Linked DNA regions of Homo sapiens: region 1 is linked to region 2. Evidence: promoter capture Hi-C in human tissues and cell types (Jung and others, 2019). All regions are on one chromosome and are shown on one strand. The core of a region is centred on a gene start or on the middle of the fragment in contact, and the rest is flanking DNA. Distances in the headings are between cores, read along the strand shown. Region 1 has its middle 130 kb from the start of PCDH7. Region 2 holds the start of PCDH7 (protocadherin 7).

Region 1 (4,988 bases), core at 1,118-3,617, 130 kb before region 2:
CCGGAGATGAAGCTGACTTGATCGTGGTGTATGAGCTTTTTGATGTGCTGCTAAATTCAGTTTGCCGGTACTTTACTGAGGATTTTTGCGTCGATGGTAATCAGGGATGTTGGCTTGAAGTTTTCTTTTTTTGTTGTATCTCTGCTGGGTTTTGATATCAGGATGATGCAGGCCTCATAAAACGAGTTAGGGAGGAGTCTCTCCTTTTCAATTGTTTGCAATAGTTTCAGGAGAAATGGTACCAGCTTCTCTTTGAACCTCTGGTAGCATTTGGCTGTCACTCCATCTGGACCTGGGATATTTTTTTTTGGTTGGTAGGCTATTTATTACTGCCTCAATTTCAGAACTTGTTATTGGTCTCTTCAGGGATTCAACTTCTTCCTAGTTCAGTCTTGGGCTGGTGTATGTGTCCAGGAATTTATCTATTTCTTCTAGATTTTCCAGTTTATTGACATAGAGGTGTTTATAATATTCTCTGGTGGTATTTTCTGTCTTGATGATCTGTCTAATACAGACAGTATTAGACAGTGGGAGTATTAAAGTCTCCCACTATTATTGTTTGGAGGCCTAAATGTCTTTGTAGGTCTCTAAAAACTTGTTTTATGAATCTGCGTGCTACTGTATTGGGTGCATATATATTTAGGATAGTTAGCTCTTCTTATTAAACTGAACCATTCAACATTATGTAATGCCCTTCTCTGTCTTTTTTGACTTTTGCTAATTTAAAGTCTATTTTGTCAGAAACTAAGATTGAAACCTCTGCTTTTTTCTGCTTTCCAATTGCTTGGTAAATTTTCCTCCTTCTTTTTATTTTGAGTCCATGTGCGTCTTTGCACATGAGATGTGTCTCTTGAGTACAGCACACAAATGGTTCCTGTCTTTGTATGCAGCTTGCCATTCTGTGTCTTTTAATTGTGGCATTTAGCCCATTTACATTTAAGGTTAATATTGTTGTGTGTGAATTTGATTCTGTCATCATGATGCTGGCTGGTAAATTTTGCAGACTTGTTAATGTAATCGCTTCATAGTGTCATTGGTCTGTGTACTTCATTGTGTTTCTGCAGTGGCTGGTAACAGGTTTTCCTATCCATGTTTAGTGCTTCCTTCAGGAGCTCTTGCAAGGCAGGCCTGGTGGTCACAAAATTCCTCAGCATTTGCTTCTCTGAAAAAGATTTTATTTCTCCTTTGCTTATGAAGCTTAGTTTGGCTGGATATGAAATTCTGGGTTGGAATTTCTTTTTCTTTAAGAATGTTGAATATTGGCCCCCAATCTCCTAGATTGCAGGGTTTCCACAGAGATGTCTGCCGTTAGTCTGATGGACTTCCTTTTGTAGGTGACCTGGCCTTTCTCTCTTGCTACCCTTAACATTTTTTCCCTCATTTCGACCTTAGAGAATAAGATGTTTATGTGTCTTGGGGTAGATCTTTTTATGAAGTGTCTTATTGGGATTCTCTGGATTTCTTGAATTTGAATATTGGCTTGTCTTGCTAAGTTGAAGAAGTTATCCTGGATGATATCCTGAAGTGTGTTTTCCAACTTGGTTCCTTTCTCCCATCTCTTTCAGCTACTCCAATCAGTCATAGGTTCAGTCTTTTTACATAGTTCCATAATTCTTAGAGGTTTTGTTTCTTTTCATTCTTTTTTCTCTAATCTTGTCTGTCTGTTTTATTTCAGCAAGATAGTCTTCAAGCTCTGATATTCTCTCTTCTGCTTAGTCGATTAGGCTATTGATACTTGTGTTTGCATAACAAAGTTCTCATGCTCTGTTTTTCAGCTCCCTCAGGTCATTTATGTTCCTCTCTAGACTGGTTATTCTAGTTAACAGCACCTGTAATCTTTTATCCTGCTTCTTGGCTTCTCTGCATTGAGTTAGAACATAATCCTTTAGCTCAGCGAAATTCATTTTTCTAAAATTCACTTTCTAAAACCTACTTCTGTCAGTTCATCCATCTCAGCTTTAGCCCCATTCTGTTCCCTTGCTGGAGATGTGTTGCAACCATTTGGAAGAGAAGAGGCATTCTGGTTTTTGGTATTTTCAGCGTTTTTGCATTCGTTTTTCCTCCTCTTTGTGAGTTTATCTACCTTTGAGGCTGGTGACTTTGGATGGGGTTTTTGTGGGGTCTTTTTTGTTGATGCTGCTGTTGTTGTTGTTGCTTCCTGTTTGTTTTTCCTCTATCAGTCCGGCCCCTCTTCTGCAGGTCTGCTGCAGTTTGCTGGGGGTCCACTGCAGCCCCTGTTCACCTGGGTATCACCAGTAGAGGTTGCAGAACAGCAAAGATTGCTGTCTGATCCTTCCGCCGGAAGCTTCATCCCAGAAGGGCACCAACTTGATGCCAGACGGAACTGTCCTGTATGAGGTGTCTGCCGACCCATGTTGGGAGGTCTCACCCAGACAGGTGGCACAGGGTCAGGGACCCTCTTGAGGAGGCAGTCTGTCCCTTAGCAGAGCTGGTGTGCTATTCTGGGGGAAATCCCTTTTGTCAGGATCAGCTGATCTTTTCAGAGCTGACAGGCGGGAAAAATTAAGTCTGCTGAACCTGGGACCACGGTGCTCTGTCCCAGGGAAATGAGAGTTCTGTCTGTTAGCCCCTGACTGGAGCCAGTGGACTTCCTGCAGGGTCGCCCTGCCCCGTGAGGAGGGATCTAGAGAAGCAGTCTGGCCACAGCTGCTTTGCTGCACCATGGGGATTTCCACCCAGTCCAAATCTCCCAGTCTTCTTAGCATTGTCAAGGGAAAACCACCTACTAAACCCACAGAAATGGAGGTCTCCACGGCCCTCCTACCGCCAGTGGAACTCGGCCGTCCCAGGTGGACTCCAGACTGCTGTTCTAGCAATGGGGATTTCAAGCCAGAGGTTCTTAGCTTGCTGGGCTCCGTGGGAGTGGAACCCGCTGAGCCAGACCACTTGGCTCCCTGGTTTCAGCCCCCTTTCCATAGGAGTGCATGGTTCTCCTGTCTCACTGGAGTTTCGGGCACTGCTGGATTATGTAAAAACTCCTGCATCTCAGTGTCTGCCTGAAAAGCCACCCAGTTTTGTGCTTAAGACCCAGGGCCCTGGTGGCATAGGCCACCAACTGCAGAAATCCACGGGAAAAGCGTAGCACCCCTGGCAGGTTGCACAATCCCTCACTGTTTCCCTTGCCTGGGGAAGGGAAGTCTTCCTGCTCCAAGCACTTCCCGGGTGAAGTGATGCCTCACCTTGCTTCTGTTCACTCTCCGTGGGTCGTAGCCACCACCTAGCCAGTCCCATGAGAATGTTAGTTGGAAATGCAGAAATCACCCGCCTTCTTCATTGGTCTCACTGGGAGCCGCTTCTATTTGGCCATCTTGGCCCCTTGGTTGATTATTTTTCTAACCATTTCAGATAAGTAGATAATTCAATTAGCTTAATTATTTTCCATTCAGTAATGTAAATATTTAAGCTATAAATATCCCTATGAGTGTTGCTTTAGTTAGCTTCCAAAGGTTTAGCTTTGAAGGGTTTAATCATTATTACTTATAAAATATATGGCAATTTAGGATTGATTGTATTCTTTGAAAAAAAGGGTCATTAAGGGCAGTTTGTGTTTTTAATAATCAGATTTCTGAGGCTCTAGTTTTTCATATTTCAAGTAATTTTTAGTTTCAATCTCGAAGTTTCTATTCTGTTGAAGTTTTTAAAATTTCTATTCACTCTAACAAAGAAAATGCTCTTTATTTCAGGATATGATTTTAATTTATGTCTATTGGATTTATTCATTAATTATGTTACCTATATTCTCTATAGTCTTTAATGTCTTCTCTAACTCTTATGTTTCAGTCTCTTTCTCCTTAAAAAGTTTTTATTAATTATTGATGCAACATTATACGATGTATGAATTATCATGAAAATTAGAGCCTTGGCACTTATTACACTTTCTTTTAACCCCTCCATCTTCTTCTATTTTTATTTTTATTTTTAGCTAGTGCTAACCAGCCCCAATTTCTTCAACTCTTCCTTATATGAAGATTTCCAGTCCCATTATCCTGAATATTTTCTTCTAATATCATTTTGTCTGGCAATGTCCTCCTGAAATGTGGTATTAAAAATGAAGCATTGCAGTGCATAGTGACTCACTCCTGTAATCCCAGCACTTTGGGAGGCCGAAGCAGGAGGAAAGCTGGAGCGCAAGAGTTGAGACTAGCCTGGGCAACATGGTGAACCCCTGTCTCTACAAAAACTACAAAAATTAGCTGGGCATGTTGGCATACAGATAGGTGGGTAGTAGTCCCAGCAACTTGGAAGGCTGAGGTGGAGGCATCTCTTGAACCCAAGAGGTGGAGGCTGCAGTGAGCCACGAATAGGCCCCTACACTCCAGCCTGGGTGACAGAGTGAGGCCCTGTATTTTTTTTAAAAAGTATAATCCTATCTGTTATCTGACCAACATGGATCACCGTGGAATGGAAATATTGCCTCTCTCAATTTTGTCACCATGCTTCTACTAATTCTGGCTAAGATGGCATATAAGCAGCCAAATTCCCAGGTCACATTGAATATGAATTCATTAAATCTCATTACATTATATTGCTGATCCTATTGATATTCATGTCTACATTTCTTTACATATACTAGGTACTCTAAAAATATTTGTTGAATACAAGAATATAGAAACAAATACATGATGTACAGATTACAAAATTTATACAATTAAGGTCTTCTATAAAGGGCAATATTTATTAACTTTGTGTTTGTAGATAAAAGTTACATTCCTAATTTACTTCAATTAAGTCAATAAATGTCATTCTTGAAAGTTATGGGTTCGTAATTGCAGTCACTTACTGTAATTATGCAACACTTGCTTTGAGAAAAGACAAGCAATTTTGAACTGTGTGGCAAATGATACCTAATGTAATGTTAGCAATTTATAACTGGGTAACTCTTTAACAGTCCAAGAGCTATAATAAATACTTCCAGTGATGCTTTACCAGTATGGAAATAATTGTCTAATTAGTAATGCACCACTACA
Region 2 (4,762 bases), core at 791-3,290:
ACTTCCATCCAACGGGCATCTACGATCCCCTGTAGGGAGAGCTTGGAAATCTCTGCCGCCTCTCCCTCCTCATTCCTGTTCCTGCGCCCGCCCAAACAACCGCGCGCTACATCTGCTCGTTGACTTTATTGGTGTTTGTCTTGTTTAAATCATTCTGCCTCGTCACCCAGGTCTCGTAAAGAATACCCACACTGGACAGATTTTATTTTTTCGGCTTTAAATTTTTCTTTGAGGGGAGGCCCTTAAATGTGTATGGATACGTCAGGCGAGCTGAAGACTAAGCAAATCCCAGCAGCGGCCCTTTCTCTCTTTCGAGATGGTAAAAATTCTCCCCAAATACCTACAGTCCGTCTCAGTCGTCTTAATCCTAGCCGGGCCTCTTCGTTTACAGCCACTGAAATAAATGAGTAAATGGCTCAGTTCAAAAACACAACCAGACCTGAGATCTGATGAGGCCGGCTGCGGTGGTCGTGAATGAAAATTGGAGAAGCCTTGCTTCAGGAAATAGGGACAGTCAAGGGACACAAAGTCAAAAGGAGAGATGGGAAAGCTGGGGACACTTTGGTACACAAAGTTGCCATTAAAGTTTATTTCCCTTTTATCCAGATAGGTGACGCTACACTTTGCCAGTTACTAAAGGCTGCAGGTTTCTGCTCAGAAAATAATATCGAGGTTTCCAACATGTGTTTATTCCCCAGGCGCGCACACACGGTCTACCCCCGCAAGCAAGCACGACGACAGGAATGTCAAGCATTTAAACAAAGACAGACATCCTTCACCCTCCACCCACCGCCGCCCCTGCCCCCCGCAACCATCCAAAGTCTGAGCTCCCAAAAAAGGATCTTTCTCCAGCTCTCTGGAGTTTGATGTTCTCTCTTCACTACTGCAGCCCGTCATGGTTTTTCAGAACAGAGTGGCTTTCTGGGCGCTCGTAGGTTCCCCAGGACCCCGATAACCATGTCCTAACCAAGATCCTAAATCGCGAACCGGAGACACTTTCCGGGGGGAGGAGGACGTCGTCTGAGAGGGAGGGAGAAGGAGAAACCTATCCTGACACCAGCTCCGAAAGCTCTCACGCGTGAACTGGGCATTAGTCAAGGGAGGAGGAAATTTACCAGCCCGAGGGAGGGAAAACAAGTCCCCCAGAGAAGACGGCGGTACTCGCTAGGGAGGGGGACTGGGCTTTGGCTTAAAGAGGACTGGCTGGGATTGGGCACACTTTGAGCGGCCCCTGGAGCTGAGGCTGGGCTTTCCCGAGCGCGGCGGCTGGCTGACGCTCCCTCCCGCCTCCTTATCCCGGGCCCTCCTCCCTCGCTCTCTCCTAGTGTGTAGTTTCGGCGGCTCGGCTGCTACTGCCGCCGCCGCTGCAGCAGCAGCGTCAGGGACAAGCCTGATCCGTGAGCGAGCGAGCACCCAGCAGCAACCACCACTTTGGGCAACTTGCGGGTTTCCTGCTCGCGGGTAGCGAACGGGAGATTCCCACTAGCGGTTCAGTGTCTCCGAGCCGCTGCAGCCCGAGGGGCGGCGGGAGCGCCCGCACCAGACTCTCCCAGACGCGAAAAGGGACGAGACAACTGCGGAATTCACCAGCCGTGCCAGGGCACTTCCGAGGCCACAACCGACTGACACTTTTTCTCCCCTTGGCAAACTGGATTTTTTTTTTTAAGCTACTTGGCAGCTGTCTCTGACTCCACCTCCCCCTCCACCCCCGCCCGAAAGCCTTTGGCTTTTCTTCGGAAATCCAGACAGAATTGGGCATCTTTGTTAATTGCCGTTGGGGACGCCCGGCCGTGCGCTTTCGCCGGCTAACGTCGCCTGTGCTCCGAGCCTGGTTTGCTCACCTTTGAACTGCAAAGGGATCAAGTTCAGCTTGAGTTCCCTGCATTGGGAAGGAGAGAGAGCGTGCAAGAGAGCGAGTGGGAGAGGGGGAAAGGGGAAAGGAGAGGAGGGAGGAGAGAGAGGAGGGAGGAGAGAGAAAGGGAGGGAGGGAGGGGAGGGATCGAGAGAGAGCGGGGAGAGAGAGGCTGCAATCTCCTCCCTGAATCGCGCACAGCGCTGCAGATCCCACTGCTCCGACATGCGGGCCGAATGCAGGTGAGAAAAGGCACGGACTCTGCGGCTGCGAACCCAAACTTGGGCACCGCACGGTGCGCACTGCTCAGCCTTCGCCCCCGTGGGCGAAAGGCTGCTGCGGTTTCAGGCGGCTGCTTCGTGACTAATGACCTTGCGCAGAGTTGTTAAGAAAAAAGAGAAACCCGCGCTCTCCGGGGTGAGAAGGGACTGACTCTGGGCGTCTCTGAAGATGGCTCGGGCTTCTCTTTGGCGCGCCGGGGGGACCCTGACACTGACCGCTCTGTGACGCGAGTAGTCTCCCCTGCACCGTGCCCGAAGCGACGTGCCGGGGGATTTTTCATTCTCGATCTGTTGACTGGCTCCCCCGCTGCATGAGCAGAGTCGGAGTTGAGACTGGCTTGTTGCTGGCCCCAGCGCCTGGTGCAGGAAGCGACTCACGTTTGTCTGGGTGGCCGGAGCCGGAGCAGAGCCTGGGTTTGGAGTGAGTGCCTGGAACGTGAATTGGACTCAACTCGAGTAGCAGCAAAGACCAGCGGGCTGGCAGGCGGGGGAGGCTGCAGGCTCATTCCCCACCTCTTCCCAGCCCCACTGCCCGTCTGCCGGAGCGGTTCTGGCCCCTTCCGACAGAGCGGGGACTAGAGCCGGGGATTCTCCGCCCGCTGAGGGGATGACTCTGGGTTGGGGGAGCGCCGAACCCGCGGCGCGCAGTGTCCCGTGAACTGTGAGTACTGCGACTGAACGGCGGCAGGCGAGCGGGCGATTAGCACCCATTGCATGAATTATGAAACAATAACTTTCGGAAGAAGCAGGAGGAAAAAAAGAAGCATCTATCGCTGCCCTCCCACCCCCATTCCCGGCCAACTCTCCACGCCGCTTTTGCCCCCTCCCTCCCCTCCCTCTCGCTCCTTCCTTTCCGGGAGAGGGGAGAGGACTCGGGGGAGGGCAGGCGGCCGGCCCCGGAGGAGGGGGGCGCCGAGGGGGCTGTGGTTAGAAGGAGCAGTAGCAGCAGCAGCAGGAGAAGATGCTGAGGATGCGGACCGCGGGATGGGCGCGCGGCTGGTGCTTGGGCTGCTGCCTCCTCCTGCCGCTCTCGCTCAGCCTGGCGGCCGCCAAGCAGCTCCTCCGGTACCGGCTGGCCGAGGAGGGCCCCGCCGACGTCCGCATCGGCAACGTGGCTTCAGACCTGGGCATCGTGACCGGATCGGGTGAGGTGACTTTCAGCCTGGAGTCCGGTTCCGAGTACCTGAAGATCGACAACCTCACTGGCGAGCTGAGCACGAGCGAGCGGCGCATCGACCGCGAGAAGCTGCCCCAGTGTCAGATGATCTTCGACGAGAACGAGTGCTTCCTGGACTTCGAGGTGTCGGTGATCGGGCCCTCGCAGAGCTGGGTGGACCTGTTTGAGGGTCAGGTCATCGTGCTTGACATCAACGACAACACGCCCACCTTCCCGTCGCCCGTGCTCACGCTCACGGTGGAGGAGAATCGGCCGGTGGGCACACTTTACCTGCTGCCCACAGCCACCGACCGCGACTTCGGCCGCAACGGCATCGAGCGCTACGAGCTGCTCCAGGAGCCCGGAGGCGGCGGCAGCGGCGGCGAGAGCCGGCGCGCCGGGGCGGCCGACAGCGCCCCCTACCCCGGGGGCGGCGGGAACGGCGCGAGCGGCGGCGGCTCGGGAGGCTCCAAGCGGCGGCTGGACGCATCAGAGGGCGGCGGCGGCACCAACCCCGGCGGCCGCAGCAGCGTGTTCGAGCTGCAGGTGGCGGACACCCCGGACGGCGAGAAGCAGCCGCAGCTGATCGTGAAGGGGGCGCTGGACCGCGAGCAGCGCGACTCCTACGAGCTGACCCTGCGAGTGCGCGACGGCGGCGACCCGCCTCGCTCCTCGCAGGCCATCCTACGGGTCCTCATCACCGACGTGAACGACAACAGCCCCCGCTTCGAGAAGAGCGTGTACGAGGCCGACTTGGCTGAGAACAGCGCCCCGGGGACCCCCATCCTGCAACTGCGCGCAGCCGACTTGGACGTGGGGGTCAACGGGCAGATCGAATACGTGTTCGGGGCGGCCACCGAGTCGGTGAGGCGGCTGCTGCGCCTTGACGAGACGTCCGGCTGGCTCAGCGTCCTGCACCGGATCGACCGCGAGGAGGTGAACCAGCTGCGCTTCACGGTCATGGCCCGCGACCGCGGGCAGCCCCCCAAGACCGACAAGGCCACCGTGGTCCTTAACATCAAAGACGAGAACGACAACGTGCCGTCCATTGAAATCCGCAAGATTGGGCGCATCCCCCTCAAGGACGGGGTGGCCAACGTGGCCGAGGACGTTCTGGTCGACACCCCCATCGCTCTGGTGCAGGTGTCCGACCGAGACCAAGGCGAGAACGGGGTGGTCACCTGCACCGTGGTGGGCGACGTGCCCTTCCAGCTCAAGCCAGCCAGCGACACCGAGGGCGACCAGAACAAGAAAAAGTACTTCTTGCACACCTCGACCCCTCTGGACTATGAGGCCACCCGGGAGTTCAACGTGGTCATCGTGGCGGTGGACTCAGGCAGCCCCAGCCTCTCGAGCAACAACTCCCTGATTGTCAAGGTGGGAGACACCAACGACAACCCGCCCATGTTCGGCCAGTCGGTGGTGGAGGTTTACTTCCCTGAGAACAACATCCCGGGCGAGAGGGTGGCCACG

What was found. Contacts are between HindIII fragments. The study calls those that stand out against the background at their distance.
Region 1: a contact is called between a fragment that was not itself captured here and the fragment with the promoter of PCDH7 in region 2, in 2 of the 25 tissues and cell types used here (H1 embryonic stem cells and mesendoderm cells).

What each region holds. Positions count from the first base shown.
Region 1 is chr4:30,584,306-30,589,293 of GRCh38, forward strand. No RefSeq gene overlaps it. Among named protein-coding and RNA genes, the nearest start is that of PCDH7, 130 kb to the right of the region's middle. The HindIII fragment of the contact is 5,151 bases long and covers 1-4,943 here.
Region 2 is chr4:30,718,329-30,723,090 of GRCh38, forward strand. It overlaps PCDH7 (protocadherin 7), which reads left to right and starts at 2,041. Exons shown (of 3, transcript NM_001173523.2): 1 at 2,041-4,762. The coding sequence starts at 3,095. It overlaps LOC124900844, which reads right to left and starts at 793. Exons shown (of 1, transcript XM_047416545.1): 1 at 1-793. RefSeq lists an enhancer at 2,850-3,560. The HindIII fragment of the contact is 10,727 bases long and covers 1-4,762 here.